Regions from separate parts of the Homo sapiens genome. Here region 1 is linked to region 2. Evidence: promoter capture Hi-C in human tissues and cell types (Jung and others, 2019). All regions are on one chromosome and are shown on one strand. The core of a region is centred on a gene start or on the middle of the fragment in contact, and the rest is flanking DNA. Distances in the headings are between cores, read along the strand shown.

What was found. The method cuts DNA at HindIII sites, captures the fragments that hold promoters and counts their contacts. A contact is called where the count stands out against the background at its distance.
Region 1: a contact is called between a fragment that was not itself captured here and the fragment with the promoter of GRIN3A in region 2, in 1 of the 25 tissues and cell types used here (dorsolateral prefrontal cortex).

Annotation. Positions count from the first base shown.
Region 1 is chr9:102,836,101-102,840,575 of GRCh38, reverse strand. No RefSeq gene overlaps it. Among named protein-coding and RNA genes, the nearest start is that of CYLC2, 160 kb to the left of the region's middle. The HindIII fragment of the contact is 3,282 bases long and covers 1,318-4,475 here.
Region 2 is chr9:101,736,775-101,741,087 of GRCh38, reverse strand. GRIN3A (glutamate ionotropic receptor NMDA type subunit 3A) reads left to right here and starts at 2,441. Exons shown (of 9, transcript NM_133445.3): 1 at 2,441-3,807. The coding sequence starts at 3,109. RefSeq lists enhancers at 2,084-2,607, 2,608-3,132 and a silencer at 4,027-4,313. The HindIII fragment of the contact is 8,904 bases long and covers 421-4,313 here.

The sequences.
Region 1 (4,475 bases), core at 1,709-4,208, 1.1 Mb before region 2:
AAAAATTCTTGGATACGCTATTCATGATAGAATCCGCAGCATAGGCAAAGAGCGTTTGCAAAAAAAAATAAGGAGCAAACATGAAAGCTATTACATAATTTCTACTTCAAAGTAAGGAAGGTTTGGTCAGTAGTATACTAGTTTGCTAAGGCTGTTACAACAAAATACCACAGACTAGTGGTTAAAAGAACAGAAATGTATTTTCTCATGGTTTCAGAGGTCAGTAGTCCAAGATCAAGGTACTGGTGAGTTGGTTTCTGGAGAGGGCTTTCTCCTTGGTTAGCAGAGGGTTCCTGTCTCACTGTGTTCTCACATTGCCTTTTCTCAGTGTGCACACACTCTTCCTCTTGTTAAAAGGACTCTAGACCTATTGGATTAGAGCCCCACCATTCTGACCTCATTTTCACTTATTCTGATGGCTAATACTGAGTGTCAACTTGATTGAAGTATTGATCTTGGATGTGTCTGTGAGAATGTTGCCAAAAAAGATTAACATTTGAGTCAGTGGGCTGGGAAAGACAGACCCACCCTTAATCAGGGTGAGCACCATCTAATCAGCTGTCAGTATGGCTAGAATATATAGCAAGGAGAAAAACGTAAAAAGCCTAGTTTGGTCTAATCTCCCAGCCTACATCTTTCTCCCGTGCTGGATGCTTCCTGCCCTCGAACATCAAACTCCAAGCTCTTCAGTTTTGGGGCTGGGACTGTCTCTCCTTGCTCCTCAGCTTGCAGACGGCCTATTGTGGAACTTGTGATCATGTGAATTAATACTTAATAAACTCTCCCTTATTTATATATATATGTGTGTTTTATATATACACACATATATAACATATATATACATATATAACATAACATACATATATATGTGTGTGTGTGTGTGTGTGTGTGTGTGTGTGTGTGTGTATCCTATTAGCTCTGTCCCTCTAGAGAACCATGACTAATATACTTACTTCTTTAAAGAGCCTATCTCCAATTACGGTTACTTTCTGAGGTGATGGGTATTATGACTTTGACATATAAATTGGTGGTGGGGTTGGGGAGACATAATCCAACACATAACTATCCCAGAATTGGTTTATAATTGAAGCTATTAATGTAGGTCAAGGTGAACTGATTAGAAAAGTAGCAAATAACAGAGACAAAAATAAATGAGATGAGGCAGCCTTGTTGAAGAGCCATAGCTTAGTTCGACTTGGGGGCTGACCAAAGTTATTCTTGGATGCTTTGTAGATAGTCACAAGAATATTCATGAGATACTAGTAAGAGAATTAATAAACTACGTAAAGCTTAAAACAGCACTAAGACTTTTGGAAATATACGTGTGTGTGTGTATGTGTAAAGCTTAAAACAGCACTAAGACTTTTGGAAATGCGTGTGTGTGTGTATAGTAGTAGCAGAAGAATTGCCTTTAGTTGTACCTATGTTTCTGCAAAAAAAAAACCCACATAATTTTATTCATTTTTATGGTTTATATGTATGTCATATTTTTTGAGACAGAGTCTTGCTCTGTTGCCCAGGCTGGAGTGCAGTGGCATGATCTTGGCTCACTCCAACCTCTGTCTCCCAGGTTCAAGCAATTCTCATGCCTCAGCTTCCCAAGTAACTGTTATTACAGGTATGTGGCACCATGCCTGGCTAATTTTGTTTATTTTTTGTAGAGATAGGGTTTTACCATATTGCCCAGGCTGGTCTCGAATTCCTGAGTTGAAGTGATCCACCTCCCTTGGCCTCTCAAATTGCTGTGATTACAGGCATGAGCCACCATACCTGGCCTGGAAATACATTTTTAAGTATCCTCATAAGTTTGAAAATAAAAACAAATATTAAGACTGTAGAACAAGTTAGTAAGAAAAATAAATTGACTATGTAAACTGAGTATCTCTATAATGTCTAGGGTTAAAAGTAATGCAAAATATTTATCACTTTTCTTTTCAAAATGAGTATTTAGAAAACATCTAGGCTATAATCTTGGAGTAAGAGTTTCAAATTTAATTAATTCAGAAAGCACATGTAAACGTGAAAGGGTGACAAATTTGCTTATATTAAAATCCAAAGACATCTTGTCTTTCCCATATTATTAATGGACTAAAGAAGTTTCTGTACATTTTAAATAAATAACCTAGGCAATAGGTGATGGATTTTTAAAAGTCTTCTCCAAGCAGTGACAGAGTTTGACATATGAAACCTATTTGTCTTCATTATCTGTAAGCTGGAAGAATAAAAATTGAATTTAGACAAATACGTTAAACTTACCAACAGACATGCTTAGAGGTAGTGTGTGTTTTCATGAATTTAGAATTAAAATAAGTGGCTTATTTTAATTCTAATAAAGTAGGTCTTTCCCAGGGAAGCCTGAGGCAAAATAACTTATTTTCTGATCATCTCTGCTAAGTAGAGTTTGATAATTCTTTCTTTCTTGGAAGTATATGAGAATAAGTGCTTTTTTTTATTTTATGGTCTGTTAAAATGCCACTAATAAGCTTATCATTTTTTATGTAAACAAATTTATATTTATTAGTGAATTTTTCTGATGGTTATAACCTTTGAATATTTTAATTGGGCCAAATATTTTAGGTTTATAAAAATTAAAATTACTCAGCAAGTAACAAGAACAGAAGACAAACAAACTGAAAATATATATGGTGAATTTGTGTTCAAAATTACTATGAACTTAATGGATCTAAGATAGTGTTCAAATTGAAATGCTAGTGAAGTGGGGAATGTTTTACACAGGTTAGTATGAATCTCTGCATAATGCAAAAAGCCCTCAATTAGACTTATGGAAATTGAAATTGGAATATGATTTGCCAAGTTCTTTGGGAAGAACTAGGAATTTATTTCTCTTCCATGTCAGGACTACTATGAAGACATGGGATGAAAAAGAGTGTAGGATGTGCAGAAGAAGGGGGCAAAGAGATGAGAAAGAAAGGAAGAAGAGAAGTCTAGGAAGATGGAAACATAGGCAAATACTAGCAGAAGAATAGCCTTCAGTTGTACCTACGTTGCTGCCAAAAACATAATTCCATTCTTTTTATGCTTGCATAGTATTCCGTGGTTTATATGTATGCCATATTTTTATCTAGTTCACCACTGATAGGCATCTTAATTCCATGTTTTTGCGAGAGTGAAAAGTCTGCAATATGCATGTGCATTCATGTGTTTTATGGTAGAAAGATGCTAGAGACATCCTAAAGAAATTAACTCAGGAACAGAAGACCAAGTATCACATGTTCTCATCAGTGAGGGTTAAAAATTGAGTACATGTGTACACACAGAGAAGGATAGACACCAGGGCTTATTTCAGGGTGGGGAGTGGGAAGAGATTGAGGATCGAAAAACTACCTCTTGGGTACTATGCTGACTACCTGGGTAATGAAATCATTTGGACACCAACCCCAGCAACACAGAGTTTGCCCATGTAACAAGTTGATACGTGCATCCCCGAACATAAACGTTGGAGGAAAAATATTTGATTACAAAATAATAAGTAAAATAACAAGAAGTCCTTGGGAAACAAACCAAAGAAAAAAAATCATCGCAGAATAGATGAAGTGGAAAAAATGGGACCAAAAAGAGAATAAGAAAGGTGATAAAAGAAAAGATCAACATTTCAATGTGAAGAAGTATGAGAGGGAGAGAAGACAAGTGGAGAAAACGAAATGTGTAAAAAGAAGAGAGAAAAATGTGAGAAAAAACACATAAATGAGGAAGAATAAAAGGGAAGAGGAAAGAAGTCTGAAGAAAGAAAAAAATTGTGGTGATTTATGGGCTATTTTCTATTTCCAGTAACTATTCAAAATATATATTATTAGTTTAAATCATTTATGAAAAAATTACAAAATATATAATAGTTTAAATTATAAAATATAATTTAATAACCCCATTGTCTAGCTAAAGTAAAAAAAAAAAAGGAATGACATTAGCACATGGTATAGCTTAAAACCTATATGACGGGTTTAGGTGCAACAAACAACCATGGCACATGTATACCTATGTAACAAACCTGCACGTTCAGCACATGTATCCCAGAACTTAAAGTTAAAAAAAAAAAAAATACAAGATCATGTCCTTTGCAGGAAACTGGATGGAGCTGGAGGCAAGTAACCTTAGCAAACTAAAGCACGAACAGAAAACCAAATACCACAGATTTTCACTTATAAGTGGGAGATAAATGATGAAAACACACGGACACATAGAGAGAAACAACACGTACAGGGGCCTATTGGATGGTGAGGTTAGGAGGAGGGAGAGGATCAGGAAAAATAACTAGTGAGTACTAAGCTTAATACCTGGGTGATTAAAAAAAAATCTGTACAACAAATCCCCATGATACAAATTTATCTACATAGCAAACCTGCTCATTTACCTCTGAATTTAAAATAAAAGTTAAATTAAAAAAAATCCCACCATGTACTTCAGAAAATCGACCCACACAATCAAATTTTTAACATACCCTAGTATAATTTGTATAT
Region 2 (4,313 bases), core at 1,192-3,691:
CATTTTGCTCCGGCCACTCCAGACCCCTCATTATTCTTTAAACCTTCCAGAAACACTCGGGGCCTTGGCATGTAGTTTCCCCTGCTTGGGAATTCTTGCCTAGAGTATTCACATGAATCACTCCCTTACCTCCCTTTACATCTTTATTCAAAAGCTGTCTTCTCCGAGAGGTCTTCCCTGGCTTTCTCACCTAAAATTACAACCCAACCTCTTCCTAATACTTCCTCTACACTGCTTTCTTTTTCCACTTAGCACAAACTAACATACCCTACATTTATTTACTTATTTGTATATTTTATTGTCTCTTTCACACTAGAATATAAGCTCTATGTTAGCATTTTGTTCACTTATTGACTATGTGATGTTGTGGAAAGGAGAAAACTCAACTTTTCTAGAGTTTATTCATCTGTTTCCAGGATGGTCCTACAACAATGATTGACACATACTAGGAGCTTAATAATTGGTTGTTGAATTTAAGTGAACTTTGAAAATGATGACCCTTGACACATGAAAAAGGTGGACAAGAAGGAGAAAGGGAAAAGGAAAAAGAAGATTTGGGGAAAGGAGAGAGAACAATTTTGTCAGATATGCTCAGACCACCATGATATGGACAAAGAAAACCAAGCAGCAAAAGGAAAACAGGAAGGACACCAGTGAATTATAATGGGAAAGCCCGGAAAGAAACAAAAGGAAGCCCAAGAAGGGAGAGCCATTCTTCATTGTTCACTCAGTATTCACCAGGTTTAAGTAGAGTTTTATCACGACCTGGTGCAGTATTATCCTCAGAAACTTGGGAAGGTCTTCTGTGTAAGAGCAGTTCAGTTATTCCCTCAAGGCAGTCATGAACTTGTGAAAAACCTAATGCATATAGAGTGATTCTAGGATGCTATTAATGATCAGATCAAACTATTCTCCATCATCATGTTTTTCTTGAGAACCTGATCTGAACATAAGTGTAATGCCAAGGACTAAAAGTACAAGGACTAAGCATGGTCATAACCTAGAAAGTTATACATTATATTCTTCAAAACACACACTCGAGTACAGACAAATATACCTCCTTACTACACAATTAGTAGATACCCAATCTTCCTGCAATGCAAGGACCTCAGACTTCTACACTTTTATTATTCAGATCTCAATCAGTGGAATCCTGTGGATCAAGGGGGAATTTCCAGCACACTAGAGGCAGCTTTTCTCCATTCATGGGATGTTCTCTCAGGCTTCAGGAGGGTTTCTTTCCCTCCTCATTCAGCCCACTACTATGATTTTCACTTTTTTTCTCATGGGAGACTTTTCTTCTCTAGCAACCCAGTCTTGCAAAAACGATGCCGAATGTCTGGTAAATTTGTTCTGAGATACCTTTAAAGATCTGGGCTGGGGAAAACAGCATTCACTTTGCAAGCTTCTTGGGATTTTTACTTAACTAGAGTCTCTTCTTCCCAGGATTTAAAACATGATGGAAACTTTAGCTCATGAATCAAAACAACCCTCCAGAGCTAAAAGCCAGCTGTATTTGCATAACAATTTAGCAGATCCAAACAGCAGGGCAAGGTCGGGTGAAATAAGTTGCCAAGGTCATGGTCATGAAGTAGTATTAGACTCAGAAAGGCTGATCCCCAGTGCTTGCTCCACCCCATGGATCTCTCCTACCCTCCTTCTAAACGATACTGTGGGATAAAATAAAATTAATCTACTGTATATGTGCAAACCACAGGCCTGCCCTTAACTCTTTCCTTACCTTCTAGTTTCAGATTATTCAAATCATGGAGGAAAAGATTAGATCACAACACGTTGACTTCACTGTATTACCATACAAATGAAATAACTTAGTACAAACTGTGATCTGGGGACTCTTGATCTAAACTGGGAACTGCTGTTGACTGCATTTTAAACTCTAAAAGTATTTTGAAACTCTTTAATTTCTTGAACTGAAAAAATTGCTTTGAATTCACTTTGTTTTAATTCTGAGAACCTAAAAACAGGGATTCTTTAAAAAAAAAATGCAAAGGCTCACATGCCAGAAAGAAAGAAGCTGAGGAGATAAAAATGTGTAAATAATTCTTACTTTAATACCCTTAGCTAGAAAAACCTTAAAAGCGACACATCCAGAAGCTCGTTAAGTCACAGCCTCTTTGAACCTATTTCAGTGAACCACCGAATTTCAGATCCCTCAGGTGCGACTCTGAATTCAGAATTCTCACCGGCTCATAGTCCTATTTTCCTTCTTAGGTTTTAGGGAATTTTGCAAACTATGACGCCCAGCCTTTGAGGGGAGAGGACTTTCCAGGGGCGCGGGATGTGCCACTCGGGAATCTCACCAACAGTGGGCGTTTAGCGCAGCCAAGCGACAGGCAGGCGCCAGGGCTCAGCAACAGGGAGGCGCCGGCTGAGGCGGGGAGAACTTTGGCGCTCGGAGCAGAGCCACCCTTTGCTGGCCAGTCGCGTTGCTCCTCCGAGGAAGCAAGCGGCGGTGGCGACTCGGTGGAAAAATAACGAAAGAAAGGCAGAGAGGAAGTAGCGAGAGAAGAGAGAAAATGAAGTCGGCGCTGGGGGAGCCTGCAGGAGGGTGGCCAACAGTGGAGGAAGGTGGATTTGGCTTCTTTTCCGCACCCCGGGCGTGAAAGCCCTCTCCAACGCGACCCCAGGAAATAAGTGGGTCTCGCCTGGGCAGAAAAGGAAAAGAATCCAGGCGAGAGCGCGTCGCTCCTCTGTCACTGCTGCCCCCGAGGAACTCCGGCTGCTTCTCATCCCGGCCGCCTCGCGGGGCCGGACGCAGTGCCCGAGGCGCCCTGCAGATGGGGCGGGCAGGGAACGGGCGCTCCAGCTGCGGGTGACAGGCGCCGGCCCGCCCGCCTGCCTGCTCAGCGCAGTGACCGGGCGGGCAGAGGATGCCAGGCGGAGGGACCTGGGAGCGGGATCTGAGACTGCCGGAGGCGCGCTACGCTCCAACTTGCATGGCCTAGAGACCGCTCCAGCTCCTGGGACCGCTTCACCGAGTGGAGTGAAGCTGCGCGCGGGACCTGGAGGCGGAGACCTCAGGCAGCGGCTGCAGAGGGGCGAGCCGGGCGCAGGAGGGGGCGCGCTTTCTCCCTGCGGGTCTCAGTAATGAGGAGACTGAGTTTGTGGTGGCTGCTGAGCAGGGTCTGTCTGCTGTTGCCGCCGCCCTGCGCACTGGTGCTGGCCGGGGTGCCCAGCTCCTCCTCGCACCCGCAGCCCTGCCAGATCCTCAAGCGCATCGGGCACGCGGTGAGGGTGGGCGCGGTGCACTTGCAGCCCTGGACCACCGCCCCCCGCGCGGCCAGCCGCGCTCCGGACGACAGCCGAGCAGGAGCCCAGAGGGATGAGCCGGAGCCAGGGACTAGGCGGTCCCCGGCGCCCTCGCCGGGCGCACGCTGGTTGGGGAGCACCCTGCATGGCCGGGGGCCGCCGGGCTCCCGTAAGCCCGGGGAGGGCGCCAGGGCGGAGGCCCTGTGGCCACGGGACGCCCTCCTATTTGCCGTGGACAACCTGAACCGCGTGGAAGGGCTGCTACCCTACAACCTGTCTTTGGAAGTAGTGATGGCCATCGAGGCAGGCCTGGGCGATCTGCCACTTTTGCCCTTCTCCTCCCCTAGTTCGCCATGGAGCAGTGACCCTTTCTCCTTCCTGCAAAGTGTGTGCCATACCGTGGTGGTGCAAGGGGTGTCGGCGCTGCTCGCCTTCCCCCAGAGCCAGGGCGAAATGATGGAGCTCGACTTGGTCAGCTTAGTCCTGCACATTCCAGTGATCAGCATCGTGCGCCACGAGTTTCCACGGGAGAGTCAGGTGAGAGGAGCCTGGTGCGTGGAGTGGAGATGGGCGCTGCTGGGGGCCGGGGCCATTGCATGAGGGGAGAGAAAACGGCTTGGTAAAGTCTGAGGGGAGTTGTTACTTTATAACTTTGATATTGCTTAACGATTGGGCCATGTTCGTAGGTGGTAGGTAGAAGGAGCTTAGTAGAAGTAGAATAAAATATTTAAAGCGCGGATGGAAATAAAACGCGCAGTGAGGTCGCGGCTGGAAGGAAAGAAGTGGGGAGAATATGAGAGAAAATCATATTTTGACCGGCTGGGAGAAATCTAGTAGATGCCCGACGGGAAGTAGAAGTCGAGGTTCAGGACCGTGGAGAGCGGTGAAGGTTCTGAAGAACTACAAGAGCAGGGTATGGGGGTGGGGTATCCCTGACTCCTGGCTAGGTGTCACACTCCCAAGAGCAACTCTGACAGCATGTGTCGGAAAAGCAGCATCTGCTCTCTCTGACTTCTTCAGAAGGTGTGCCTGAGCCTTAGGCA